2 separate regions of the Homo sapiens genome follow, and region 2 is linked to region 1. The links are contacts of gene promoters, found by promoter capture Hi-C in blood cells and fetal thymus (Javierre and others, 2016). All regions are on one chromosome and are shown on one strand. The core of a region is centred on a gene start or on the middle of the fragment in contact, and the rest is flanking DNA. Distances in the headings are between cores, read along the strand shown. Region 1 holds the start of STX1B (syntaxin 1B). Region 2 holds the start of BCKDK (branched chain keto acid dehydrogenase kinase).

The links. The method cuts DNA at HindIII sites, captures the fragments that hold promoters and counts their contacts. A CHiCAGO score of 5 or more calls a contact.
Region 2: the fragment with the promoter of BCKDK here is called in contact with the fragment with the promoter of STX1B in region 1 in 2 of 17 cell types (erythroblasts and endothelial precursors); the score reaches 5.4 in erythroblasts.

The regions. Positions count from the first base shown.
Region 1 is chr16:31,006,854-31,013,429 of GRCh38, forward strand. STX1B (syntaxin 1B) reads right to left here and starts at 3,785. Exons shown (of 10, transcript NM_052874.5): 1 at 3,514-3,785. The coding sequence starts at 3,543. RefSeq lists an enhancer at 3,821-4,322. The HindIII fragment of the contact is 27,284 bases long and covers 1-6,576 here.
Region 2 is chr16:31,103,398-31,109,973 of GRCh38, forward strand. BCKDK (branched chain keto acid dehydrogenase kinase) reads left to right here and starts at 4,989. Exons shown (of 12, transcript NM_005881.4): 1 at 4,989-5,082; 2 at 5,650-6,021; 3 at 6,114-6,182; 4 at 6,276-6,386. The coding sequence starts at 5,827. RefSeq lists enhancers at 2,289-3,105, 4,713-5,606, 5,607-6,499 and a silencer at 4,842-5,381. The HindIII fragment of the contact is 13,040 bases long and covers 1-6,576 here.

The DNA of each region.
Region 1 (6,576 bases), core at 2,535-5,034:
CCTGGAATACCAGCACTTTGGGAGGGCGTGGCGGGAGGATCATTTGAGGCCAGGAGTTCAAGACCAGTCTGGTCAACATAGACCCCATCTCTACAAAAGCAAAAAGAATTAGCCAGGCATGGTGGTGCGCATCTGTAATCCCAGCTACTCGAGAGGCTGTGGCAGGAGGATCCCTGGAGACCAGGAGGTCAAGGCTGCAGTGAGCTGTGATTGCACCGCTGCACTCCAGCCTAGGTGACAGAGGAAGACCATGTCTCTAAAAACATTTTTTTAAATATAAATAAAGGCAGCCCAGAGCAGCTGGAGGATATGGATCCATCACCCAGGGTTCGTTGGTCTCTGCACCCTGTGATTTCAGGGCTGCGTTTCTAAAGCACCTACTGTGCCTGCCTCATACCTGAGGGCCTTTGGGGCACGGGGCGGTCCCTCAGCAGCCTTCATCCTGTCCAGCCTCAGATTCAGGCTCCTGCAGTGCAGGCCCCACCTTCCTCCCAGGGTGTCTCCGCACTTCTCCCACCCGACTCCACAGCTGCGTCTCAGACCTCAGCCCTCCCTGTGCCCCTCCTGTCTTCTCCCATAACCCACCTTCCTCTCCACCTCACTCACTCTGCTCTTTCCTCTGGAGCCCCACTCTGGCTTCACTCCTTAGACCCTGGGACACCTATTTAGCTGATTAACTCCTTTTCACAGCCTCCACAACCAGCCTAGCACCAACCAAGGTTGCCTGGTAAACTGGACGCAGAAAACCCTGGTTCAAGCCCACCTCAACCATTAAAAGCTATCTGACCTTGGACAAGTCAGGTTTTTTTTACCCCCTCTGGCCCTCAATGTACTCCAAAATAAAATAGGGGCCATGTCCTGCCCATCGCAGGGGGCTTGTGTGGTGTTGAAGAGAAATAAACAAGCCATCTGCTGGGTAACAGACACACAGCACTGCTGGGCGCCAGGCCCCCTCCTAGGCACCTGATGCATATTAACTACTTCCAGTCCTCAGGACAACCCTGTGAAACAGGCACTCTTACTTCTCCCAACTCATACGCGAAGAAATTGAGGACCAGAGAGGTTAAGCAACTTGCCCAAGGTCTCACAGGAAGTAGCAAAATTAGAATTTGAACCCAGACAGTCTGGCTCCCGAAACCACTGTGTGACAAACGGACTTGAGAACCCCTTGGGAATGCCAAGGTACTGTTGGAAAGACAATCAGTCCCCTGGGCTAATGTCCCCTCCCACCACCGCCCCTGCCTCATCCCTCCCAGTGTCTCAGAGACCCCGTTTCCAGGTCCCCCACACCCTGCCAGGTGTCTCCTGCATCCCAGGCTCCTTGCTTTCAACTGTAGCAGGGAGACCCTTACGCTACCTGAATCTGTCAGCTTTTCCCACCCCGCCCGCCCCCTCTTGAATCTCCAGTTTCCCTGAGCTGTGACTAATACCAAAGCCACCACATCCACTCAGCCCCTTCACCCTTCCACACCACCTCCGGCAGCCACAGCCAACAGGATTCCTTACCTCTGAGCAGGGGCCCCTGACTCATTCATGAGGCCTCCCCCTCCCCTGCCTCCCCCTTACCCCGCTTAGCCTTTTCCCTCCCTCTTTCTCGAATTGTACCCCAATTCCACACCACCTGATCCCAACCCACTTCCATTTCCCTGGGTTTTGGAGTCATGGAATAGTCCTGGTAGCAGGGGAACTGGGTTCAAGTCCGGATCCCTCACCTGCTAGCTGTGTGACCTTTGGAAAGTTATTCAACCACTCTGGGCCTCAGTTTCCCCAACTCTAAAATGAAAGAGCCTCCCCGTCCACTTGCCAGGAGGTCAGTGGGGCTCTAATGACATCACGGATGAAAGCCTGCTCTGCAAACTGAGGAGGGGAATTGACAGCACCGATGCTGAAGCCGGCCTGCCTGGGTTTGAATCCTGCCTTTACCAGCTGTGTGACTTTGGTCTAATTACTTAACCTCTCTGAGCTTAGTGTCCTTATCTATAAAATGAGATAACATATATCTATATATCTAAAAAGATATTTATATATCTATGAAATGAGATAACCAGTCTCATAGGATTGCTGTGAGGATCAAAATGAGTGAATATGCATAAAACACTTCAAACAATGTTTATTATTACTGTCACTTTCCTCATGCCTGAGTGTATATTCAGTAAAAATGTAATAAAGAAACCTTTAAAATTCCCTCCCTCAGCCACCAGCTCCTCCTTGCTTCCCATTTGGCAACCTGTCTGTCCCCAGAGACAGCGGTCACTTGCCTCCAAACACCTTCTTCTCGTCTGTCTGTAACCTGGGTCCCCACCCCCAAATCCAGGGGACAGCTCTTCACCCCCAGTGCTGAAACTTCTGTTTCAAAGGCCAGAAAAGCAGAGACCTGTGTCAACCTAGCAGACAGGAAACCCAGATTGCAGTCTGCCCCCCACCCACTTGCTTGGTGACCTTGGACAAGTCCCTTCCCACGCCTGAATCTCAGTTTCCTCATCTGTCAAGTGGGGTAATAACCCCTGGGGTAACAACCCACCAGTTCCCTGTAAAGGCTCAGTGCATTGGGCAGCTCAGCCGGGGCCGGTACCCTTATTAACATAACACCACCAGCCCAGCACAGTGCGGACTGTCAGTGCTGCCTCCTCGGGCCCCAGGTCATTTCTCCAAATACCCCAGCGTCCTCCCTGCCCCTGAAACCATTCTCATCGAACCCCACTCCCCAGTTCCTCCAGGTAGCAGCCTCCACTGCAGTCCTTCCCCTGTCCCCCCAAAACCAGGGACTGCCTGGCCAGACTCTTGGAGCCGGGCCTCTTCAGGCCTGCAGACCTGGGGCCTGCATCAGCCCTTGACTGCCCGGGGTGCCCCAGTTCCCCCAAGCAGAGCACGGCCCGTGTTCCATGGCCCTCTCCTCTGCATCCCCATCTCCCACCTCTGGGTCACCCTGTCTCAGGCCCTGGCCCTCTGGCTCTCTCCGGAGGCCACCTCTTCCCTCCCTGTCTCGGAGAGATGCCCCCTCCCTATAGGGAGTGACACACGCGTGTGCACACACACACACACTTCATTCACTGCCAGGTGCTGGCATCTCAGTCCCAACCTGTGTCCTTCCCCGTAGCATCCCCTGAATCTGGGTCCTGCTAGACTCTCAGCCTGGCCCAGTCACCGCCCCCATGCTTCTCTTTGGCAAACCTGCCCAGGGGATGACAGTCTCCTCCGGTTTCTCCTGATATCCACTCTCTCCCATCCCCAGACCAGACCCCGGGGCCCTCCTGGGAATGCGGGGTGTTCGAGGCCCCTGAGACCTCTCCTGCCCCCTTGTGTCTTCATGGCCTCCAACCCCTTCCAGGCACTGTCCCCAAAATGCAGGTTCACTGGAGAGACATCAGGCGCCTGAAGATACTGGGGTGCTCCGGCTACCAACCTCCGATCTCATCCTTCGCCCCCACGTCCCAGCACCTCCCCCACTCCATCCCCACGCGCTCCCCCAATATTGGGGTCCCGCCCCCCCATTCTCCCCACCCCCAAGCTCACACTCCGCAGCTCTTGAGTCCGATCCTTCATCCTGCGACGGCTCCTCCTCCTCCTCCTAGTCCTCCTGCCTCTGCTGCTGCTCCGGGTCTCCCGCCTCTGTGCCGGAGGCCGGGGTCTGGGGGCGCCGGGGGGCGCCGCGGCCGCTGCGGGGGGCCTGCGGGCGGGGGCGGGGCCGGGGGCGACTGGCCGAGGGCCGGGCAGGGGCAGGGGCCTGGGCCGGGCTCGGCTCTGCCGGGCTGCGGTGGCGATGCGGCTGCGGCACAGGGTAGGATGGAGGGATGCGGGAGCCGAGCGCGGGGGAGGGGGGCGGAGGGAGGTGAGGAGGAAGCGAGGGCGGGGGGAGCGGGAGCGCGCAAGGAGCAGGGGGCATGCGCAGCACCCGGGCCGGGGGCGCCTGGGGGTTGTAGTCACGGGCTTGGGGGACACCCGAGGAGGGGGCGGGAGAGGCCTGGAGGCGGGTGGGGGTGGGCAGAGCCCGAGGAGCAGGGAGAGATGCGGAGAGCCAAGCGGAGATGCTAGGGTGGCCCGGGGGGTGGGGTGGCCCGGCGGAAAGAGGGGGTGACGGAATGAATTCAGGGAATAACCTGGGAGCCAGGATGTGGATCCCTTTCCAGGAGACACAGATCGCGGCTGTGTTTTGTGTCTGGTGTCTGCGTGAGGCTGCGCGCCGACCACCTCTGGGTGCGAGCCCATGTGTGTTCTTGCAGGAGGCTCTTTGGACACTATAAATAGAAAGACCGACCCTCTGTGTGGTTTTTACGATGCAGGGAACCAGCCAGGTGCTTGCTGAGAAGGACACGGGGCTTGTGTTGCACAGCCTGGGCCTCTCCCGCCGCGGTGGGTCTCGGAGCTCTGCTTGTCTGCCTCCAGGGACAGGGTGCTCACTACCTCCCAGGACCTCTTGGCCCATCTGCAGATGGCTCTGACTGTTGAACATGAAATTTGTCCTTAGTGGGAGGGGAAATCAGGTGCCCCTGAGGGTCTGAGTGACCTCCTGTTCTGATGCCCACCTCTCCTCTCCCCATCCTTACACCACACCAGCTCCTCCCACCCCCTGCAATGGGGCGCCGGTCCCCAATGGGACAGGTCTTGACTCTCAATCGATCCTCCTGCCTCAGCCTCCCAAAGTGCTGGGATTCCATGCCTGGGCCACCGCACCCGGCATTCTCTTGCCAGGTACCCAGTGACCTCCTTGGTGCCAAATCTGTGTCTGATAAACCCTCATCCCACACCGCCAGTCGGGCCTTACCATCCCTGACCTCTCAGCAGCATGTGACCCTGATGAGCCCCTCTTCCTGAAACCCTCCTGTCTGTGGTGCTCCGCCCACCTACCCCCCAACCTGATCTGTGAGTGTTGTCTCCCAGCCTCTTTCCAGGTCCTTACCTTTTTTCCCACAGCCCTTCAACCTCAGGGTTCCCTGGGCTCCGTCCATTCTCTCTTTTTTTTTTTTTTTGAGTTAGGGTCTCATTCTGTTGCCCAGGCTAGAGTACAGTGGTGCAATCTCGGCTCACTGCAGCCTCAACGTCCCAGGCTCAAGTGATCCTCCCACCTCAGCCTCCTGAGTAGCTGGGACTACAGGCACGCGCCACCACACCTGGCTAATTTTATTTTTTGTAGAGACAGGGTCTCACTATGTTGTCCAGGCTGGTTTTGAACTCCTAGGGTCAAGCGATCCTCCTGCCTCAGCCTCCCAAAGTGCTGAGATTACAGGCCTGGGCCACCATGCCTGGCATTCTCTTCCTTCTTTACCTGCATCTTTCTGCACCTCCGTGTCTGCAGTGCCCACATCTGTACCTGCGAGCCAGATCCTCCCCCTGTAAGACAGCCCCTACTATATGCCTAAGCTCTGAGCTGGGCACCAAGAAGACAGAGATTGAAGATGCCACCAGAGCCATGAGTAGATCCATGACTACAGTGGGCATGGCTAGCGCTGACGTGGGGACCTCAAGGAGGTGGCTGTCCCCAAAGTGTTCCTTCCTGTGTTCTCCCTCAGAGATGGCGTCATCTCCATCCACCCAGCCACTCAAAGCACAGAAAGCTGTCCTTGCCTCCCCGCCATTATAATGCCAGCACGTTCTGGGCATCCAACGTGTTGCATTCACTATGCTGGTAGCTCCCAGAAACCTCCCAACCTCACAGTAGCCACTGCTAAGATCCCAAGTGTATAGACAAGGACACTGAGGCTTTGCATGGTCACATAACATATCCAAGTTCACAAGGTTAATAAAGGGCAGGGCTGGGGTCTTGTTTGCTTTTTTTTTTTTTTTTCCAGAGACAGGGTCTCACTCTGTTCCCCAGGCTGGAGTGCAGTGGTGCAATCACACCTCACAGCAGCCTTGACCTCCTGGGCTCAAGCAATCCTCCCATCTCAGCCTCCTGAGTAGCTGGGACTACAGGTGTACACCACTGTGTCCAGCTAATTTTCTTTCTTTCTTTCTTTCTTTTTTTGAGAGAGAGTCTCGCTCTGTCACCCAGGCTGGAGTGCAATGGCGCGATCTTGGCTCACTGCAATCTCCGCCTCCTGGGTTCAAGTGATTCTCCTGCCTCAACCTCCCAAGTAGCTGTGATTACAGGTGCCTGCCACCATGCCTGGCTAATTTTTATATTTTTAGTAGAGACAGGGTTTCGCCATGTTGGCCAGGCTGGTCTGGAACTCCTGACCTCAAATGATCCACCCGCCTTGGCTTCCCAAAGTGCTGGGACTGCAGGTGTGAGCCACTGTGCCTGGCCCTAATTTAACTTTCTTTTTTTCTTTTTTTTGCAGAGACGAGATTGGTCCTAGCCTCCTGGGCTCTCACCTCGGCTTCCCAAGTGCTGGTATTATAGGCATAAGCCACTGTGTCTGACCTTGTTTGTATCTTTTGATTGCAAAGCCCATTCTTCTTTTCTTCTTTCTTCTTCTTCTTCTTCTTCTTCTTCTTCTTCTTCTTCTTCTTCTTCTTCTTCTTCTTCTTCCTCTTCCTCTTCCTCTTCCTCTTCCTCTTCTTTCTTCTTCTTCTTCTTCTTCTTCTTCTTCTTCTTCTTTTCTTCTTCTTCTTCCTCTTCCTCTTCTTCCTCTTCCT
Region 2 (6,576 bases), core at 3,739-6,238, 98 kb after region 1:
AGAACAGGAGTTCGAGGCTGCAGTGAGCTGTGATCGCACCACTGCACTCCAGCCTTGGTGACATGAGCGATATCTTGTCTCAATAAATAAATACATACAGTTCTCTTTTACATCGAGTATATGTAAATTTTTAAAAATACATTGAAAGCGCTTAGAAAGCCGCCTGACTCTCCCTCTCCCTCTCCCTCTCCCTCTCCCTCTCCGTCTCCGTCTCCGTCTCCGTCTCCGTCTCCGTCTCCGTCTCCCTCCACGGTCTCCTTCCACGGTCTCCCTCTGATGCCGAGCCAAGGCTGGACGGTGCTGCTGCCATCTCGGCTCACTGCAGCCTCCCTGCCTGATTCTCCTGCCTCAGCCTGCTGAGTGCCTGCGATTGCAGGCGCACGCCGCCACGCCTCACTGGTTTTCGTTTTTTTTTTTGGTGGAGACGGGGTTTTGCTGTGTTGGCCGGGCTGGTCTCCAGCTCCTAGCCGCGAGTGATCCGCCAGCCTCGGCCTCCCGGGGTGCCGGGATTGCGGACGGAGTCTCGTTCACTCAGTGCTCTGTGGTGCCCAGGCTGGAGTGCAGTGGCGTGATCTCGGCTCGCTACAGCCTCCACCTCCCAGCCGCCTGCCTTGGCCCCCCAAAGTGCCGAGATTGCAGCCTCTGCCCAGCCGCCACCCCGTCTGGGAAGTGAGGAGCGTCTCTGCTTGGCCACCCATCGTCTGGGATATGAGGAGCCTCTCTGCCTGGCTGCCCAGTCTGGAAAGTGAGGAGCGTCTCTGCCCGGCCGCCATCCCATCTAGGAAGCGAGGAGCGCCTCTTCCCCGCCGCCTTCCCATCTAGGAAGTGAGGAGCGTCTCTGCCCGGCCGCCCATCGTCTGAGATGTGGGGAGCACCTCTGCCCCGCCGCCCTGTCTGGGATGTGAGGAGCGCCTCTGCTGGCCGCAACCCTATCTGGGAGGTGAGGAGCGTCTCTGCCCGGCCGCCCCGTCTGAGAAGTGAGGAAACCCTCTGCCTGGCAACCGCCCCGTCTGAGAAGTGAGGAGCCCCTCCGTCCGGCAGCCACCCCGTCTGGGAAGTGAGGAGCGTCTCCGCCCGGCAGCCACCCCGTCCGGGAGGGAGGTGGGGGGGGTCAGCCCCCCGCCCGGCCAGCCGCCCCATCCGGGAGGTGAGGGGCTCCTCTGCCCGGCCGCCCCTACTGGGAAGTGAGGAGCCCCTCTGCCTGGCCAGTCGCCCCGTCCAGGAGGGAGGTGGGGGGGTCAGCCCCCCGCCCGGCCAGCCGCCCAGTCCGGGAGGTGAGGGGCGCCTCTGCCCGGCCGCCCCTACTGGGAAGTGAGGAGCCCCTCTGCCCGGCCAGCCGCCCCGTCCGGGAGGGGGGAGGGGGGGTCAGCCCCCTGCCCGGCCAGCCGCCCCGTCCGGGAGGGAGGTGGTGGGGGTCAGCCCCCCGCCCGGCCAGCCGCCCCGTCCGGGAGGTGAGGGGTGCCTCTGCCCGGCCGCCCCTACTGGGAAGTGAGGAGCCCCTCTGCCCGGCCAGCCGCCCCGTCCGGGAGGGAGGTGGGGGGGTCAGCCCCCCGCCCGGCCGGCCGCCCCGTCCGGGAGGTGAGGGGCGCCTCTGCCCCGCCGCCCCTACTGGGAAGTGAGGACCCCTCTGCCCAGCCAGCCGCCCCGTCCGGGAGGGAGGTGGGGGGGTCAGCCCCCCGCCCGGCCAGCCGCCCAGTCCGGGAGGGAGGTGGGGGGATCAGCCCCCCGCCCGGCCAGCCGCCCAGTCCGGGAGGGAGGTGGGGGGATCAGCCCCCCGCCTGGCCAGCCGCCCCGTCCGGGAGGTGAGGGGCGCCTCTGCCCGGCCGCCCCTACTGGGAAGTGAGGAGCCCCTCTGCCCGGCCAGCCGCCCCGTCCGGGAGGGAGGTGGGGGGGTCAGCCCCCCGCCCGGCCAGCCGCCCCGTCCGGGAGGGAAGTGGGGGGGGTCAGCCCCCCGCCCGACCAGCCGCCCCGTCCGGGAGGGAGGTGGGGGGATCAGCCCCCCGCCTGGCCAGCCGCCCCGTCCGGGAGGTGAGGGGCGCCTCTGCCCGGCCGCCCCTACTGGGAAGTGAGGAGCCCCTCTGCCCTGCTTGAAGGCAGCATGCTCGTTAAGAGTCATCACCACTCCCTAATCTTAAGTACCCAGGGACACAAACACTGCGGAAGGCCGCAGGGTCCTCTGCCTAGGAAAACCAGAGACCTTTGTTCACTTGTTTATCTGCTGACCTTCCCTCCACTATTGTCCTATGACCCTGCCAAATCCCCCTCTGCGAGAAACACCCAAGAATGATCAATAAAAAATAAAAATAAAAAAAAAAAAATAAAAAAATAAAAAAAAAAAAAAAGAAAGCCGCCTGACCTGTATACAGTATTCTGAAAAGGGGGTCGCGAGGTGCATGTCCAACCTCCGCCGCCGGGGGCAGCAGCGAGTCCAGGCCGAGCCGGGGCCTAGCGAGCGGGGTCAAATGGGGTGAGGCCTGTGCCAGACCTCTCCACCTCGGTGGCAGCCGCAGCCTCCTCCGCCTGCGGCTCCTGTCCACGCCGCGGCCACGTGAGCGCCAGATTCTGGCGCACAGACCACTGCCAGTCCTTTGCTGCTTTGCGCAGCCTGTCCTCCCCGCCAGGAGCACCCTTCCCGCTCCCTTTTACCACGGGCTCCAGCCGTGGCTGCCTTGGGGCTGCCGCCGCCTGGCTGTACTCCAGGACGTTGGGAAAGAACGGGTGGGAATGGTGTGGGTGGGGGTCAAAGAGGAAACCCAGAGATGCAGGGCGCCCCTTTCCCGTGGTCTGCCCCCAATTGCTCAGGCAGGCCAGTCACGGTGAGGCGTCCTCCCTCCAAGTTTATATTTATTATTATTTATTATTTATTTTTTTCACCTTCAAGTTTATTATTTATTATTTATTTATTTATTTTTGAGACGGAGCCTCTCTCTGTCGCCCAGGCTGGAGTGCATTGGCACGATCTTGGCTCACTGCAACCTCCGCCTCCCGGGTTCAAGCGATTCTTCTGCCTCAGCCTCCCGAGTAGCAGGGATTACAGGTGCATGCCACCACATCCGGCTAATTTTTGTATTTTTAGTAAAGACAGAGTTTCACCATATTGGCCAGGCTGGTCTCGAACTCCTGACCTCAGGTCATCTGCCCGCCTTGGCCTCCCAAAGTGCTGGGATTACAAGCATGAGCCACTGCACCTGGCTAACCTCCAAGTTTAAAGACAGCCGCCAGGCCCAGTGGCTCACTCCTGTAACCCCAACAACTCAGGAGGCTGAGGCCAGGAATTTGAGACCAGCCTGGGCAACATAGCGAGACCCCGGCTCTAAGAAAAATAGGCCAGGCACGGTGGGTTACGTCTGTAATCCCAGCACTTTGGGAGGCTGTGGCAAAAGGATTGCCTGAGGGGGAAAAAATCACCCTGGGGGTAGTGGTGCACACTTACAGTCTCGGCTACTTGAGAGGCTGAGGTGGGAGGATCATTTAAGTCGGAGGCTGCAGTGAGCTACTATGGAGCGACTGTATTACAGCTTGAGCAACAGAGCGAGACCCCATCTCCAAATAAATAAATAAAGATAGCCTCCAAAGATGTCACTTGCTTCACTTAGCACTTTTTATTGAACATATTTAGGAAATATATAACCATGGTAAAGAAAATTGCAATTAGTACAAATACACACTACACACATATGCACGTGCACACACTGAAACGTGTCCCTTCCAGCGCCTCCTGCCTGGATAATTTTTTTTTTTTTTGCAACGGAGTTTTGCTCTTGTTGCCCAGGATGGAGAGCAGTGGCGGGATATCGGCTCACTGCAACCTCCTCCTCCCGGGTTCGAGCGATTCTCCTGCCTCAGCCTCGCGAGTAGCTGGGATTACAGGCGCCAGCCACAACACCCGGCTGATTTTTGTATTTTTAGTAGAGACGGGGTTTTGCCAAGTTGGCCAGGCTGGTCTGGAACTCCTGAGATCCGCCCACCTCGTCCTCTCAAAGTGCTGGGATTACAGGCCTGAGCCACTGCGCCTGGCCTAAAGTAATTGTCTTCTTATTGGTTTCTCTGCCTTTGGTCTCACCAAACGCCCCACTCTAAATCACTGCAGACAAGGGGTTCTGTCTAAGGAGGAGAGCCCACCAGTTAAAACCCTTCAGTAGTTCCTAACTACCCTAGGACAAATGCAGACTTATCCTTCGCTCTCTGCTGCCGCCCCTCTCCTTCCCAGATCCCATATGGCTCCAGCCATATCCTCAGACCATCTGGGCTGTTGTCTGTCCTGCCACACACCCTTCCCACCCCGCTCCCTTGCAAGTCCTACTCAGGCTGCACCTACACAGCTGTCTCAGTTTCTATCTGAGGCTCCCGCAGCCTCCTCTGAAAGTCCTCATCACAGCCAATGATACTGAAACTGTTTTCTTATGCAGGGCACGGAAAGATCTATTCAACTCACTGCCCAATCTCCTCTCCTGGTGCAGAAAAGACACCCAGTCAGCGACTTGCATTATCTGCAGGCATGAGTGAATAATAATAATGCCTAACCCTTATATAGTGCTAATTCCACGCCTGGCACTGTTCTAGGCACTCATATAAATTCATGTAATCCACACAACCCCAAAACTGATGATATCTCTTCATCTTACCAAGCACTGAGCAGTTAAATAACTTGCTCCAGATATTAAGGGGTCGAGCTGGGGTTTGAAGCCTGGTTACCCATAAATGAACCAAGAACTGGAAGGAGGACAAGAGCTCCGAGAAGGAGTCAGGTAGGGCGTGATCTGTGCGCTTTACATCTAAGATCTTCCAGCTCCCAGGGAGCCCGTTTCATAGAGCAGGAGATAGAGGCTGGGAGGGACACGGAGAGCCTCGAGAGCCGTGTGGAGGAAGCGGTGCTGTTTGGGGTCCGGGAGCAAGGGCGTGGCCTGGATGCGCGGGCGCCCGGGACGGCACGTCCTCAGACCAAACTACAACTCCCAGGACCCAGCGGGCGCTGCCGCCCACGCGACGTCACGGCGGCGGAGGGCGCAGGCGGCTGGGCGCCTGGCGAGTGGACTGTTCGAGCCCTTCCGCTGGGACCCGGGCCCTGGCTCCGGCCCCGCGGTAAGTGGGGCGACCCCAGCCTACTCAGTCCGCGGAGGCCCCGCGGCGCACGTCCGCAGCCTCCATCACAGCGCGGGCGCGCAGACGGGGCTGGCATCTACCATATGGGGGGCATCCGGGCCGAACCAAGTGACCCGCGTGGGGGGTCCCGCTGGGGACTCCGTGCCGCACCCTCCCAAGCCGGCCCCAGGGGCCCAGGGCTGGTGTCGCACGTTCGCTGGCCGCGCTCCCAGGGCCCGGGTTTGAAGGCGCTGGGCAGGCAGGGGCAGCCCCGCCCCCTGAGAAGGGTACCCGGGACCCCGGGGCGCTGGGGCGAGGTTTTCGGGCTGGAAGGGTCTGAGGGGCTCCTCCCCCGACAGCCCTCCCACCGCCAGTAGAGCCTCGGGTTGGGGAATAGAAGCCCCCGGGAGGCTAGGTCCTTTGGGCGCGGCCTGTGTGCATCTGGGGAGACGGTGGGAGTGGTGGGGAGAGGTCGCCCGGGTCTGGGGAGACCGATGCACAGGTGGAGAGATGGTGCGGGTTCTGTGGATTCGGATCCTTACAACTTCCTCTTCCCCGCCCCGGTAGATGGGAGCTGCTCTCCGCGGGCTGAGCCTGTCAGCATCCTCGACGCACCCTGGTCCCTGAAGTCGGAGAAGAGCCCCTACCCACCCACACCCCCTTGCCCCATTTTGGGTCGCCTGGGTCCTCAGTCCTAGCGGATCCTCAGTCCTAGCGGCCACCGGGTCTGAAAGGAGCAAGACGATGATCCTGGCGTCGGTGCTGAGGAGCGGTCCCGGGGGCGGGCTTCCGCTCCGGCCCCTCCTGGGACCCGCACTCGCGCTCCGGGCCCGCTCGACGTCGGCCACCGACACACACCACGTGGAGATGGCTCGGGAGCGCTCCAAGACCGTCACCTCCTTTTACAACCAGTCGGCCATCGACGCGGCAGCGGAGAAGGTGCGCAAGGGGGCAGCCAGCCCAGGGTCCGGGATGTAGGCGGGAGGGAGAGTGTTGGGGGTTCTCTGCTCAAGGCCTCTCTCCCTCTCTAGCCCTCAGTCCGCCTAACGCCCACCATGATGCTCTACGCTGGCCGCTCTCAGGACGGCAGCCACCTTCTGGTAAGATTCACGCCCTCTATTTTCCTCGTGGATCCTGGAGCTCTCCCAGACACTCAGGCTCCAGCCCCGCCTTCCCTTCTCATTTTCTCCCAGAAAAGTGCTCGGTACCTGCAGCAAGAACTTCCAGTGAGGATTGCTCACCGCATCAAGGGCTTCCGCTGCCTTCCTTTCATCATTGGCTGCAACCCCACCATACTGCACGTGGTAAGGTAGAGAGGACCTTAGGTCAGCGGGCCACCCTGCCCCGGGGGCAAGTGGGGAGTCTGGGGCCCAGAGTGGCAGACGATTGCTTGCCTAAAGGTGTCAGGGCCACACAGGATTCAACCCCAGGCCTTCAGAAGCCAAAGGTGTGTATTCACGGAGCCTGGAAGGGTCGAAGTGGGGGTTTGATCAC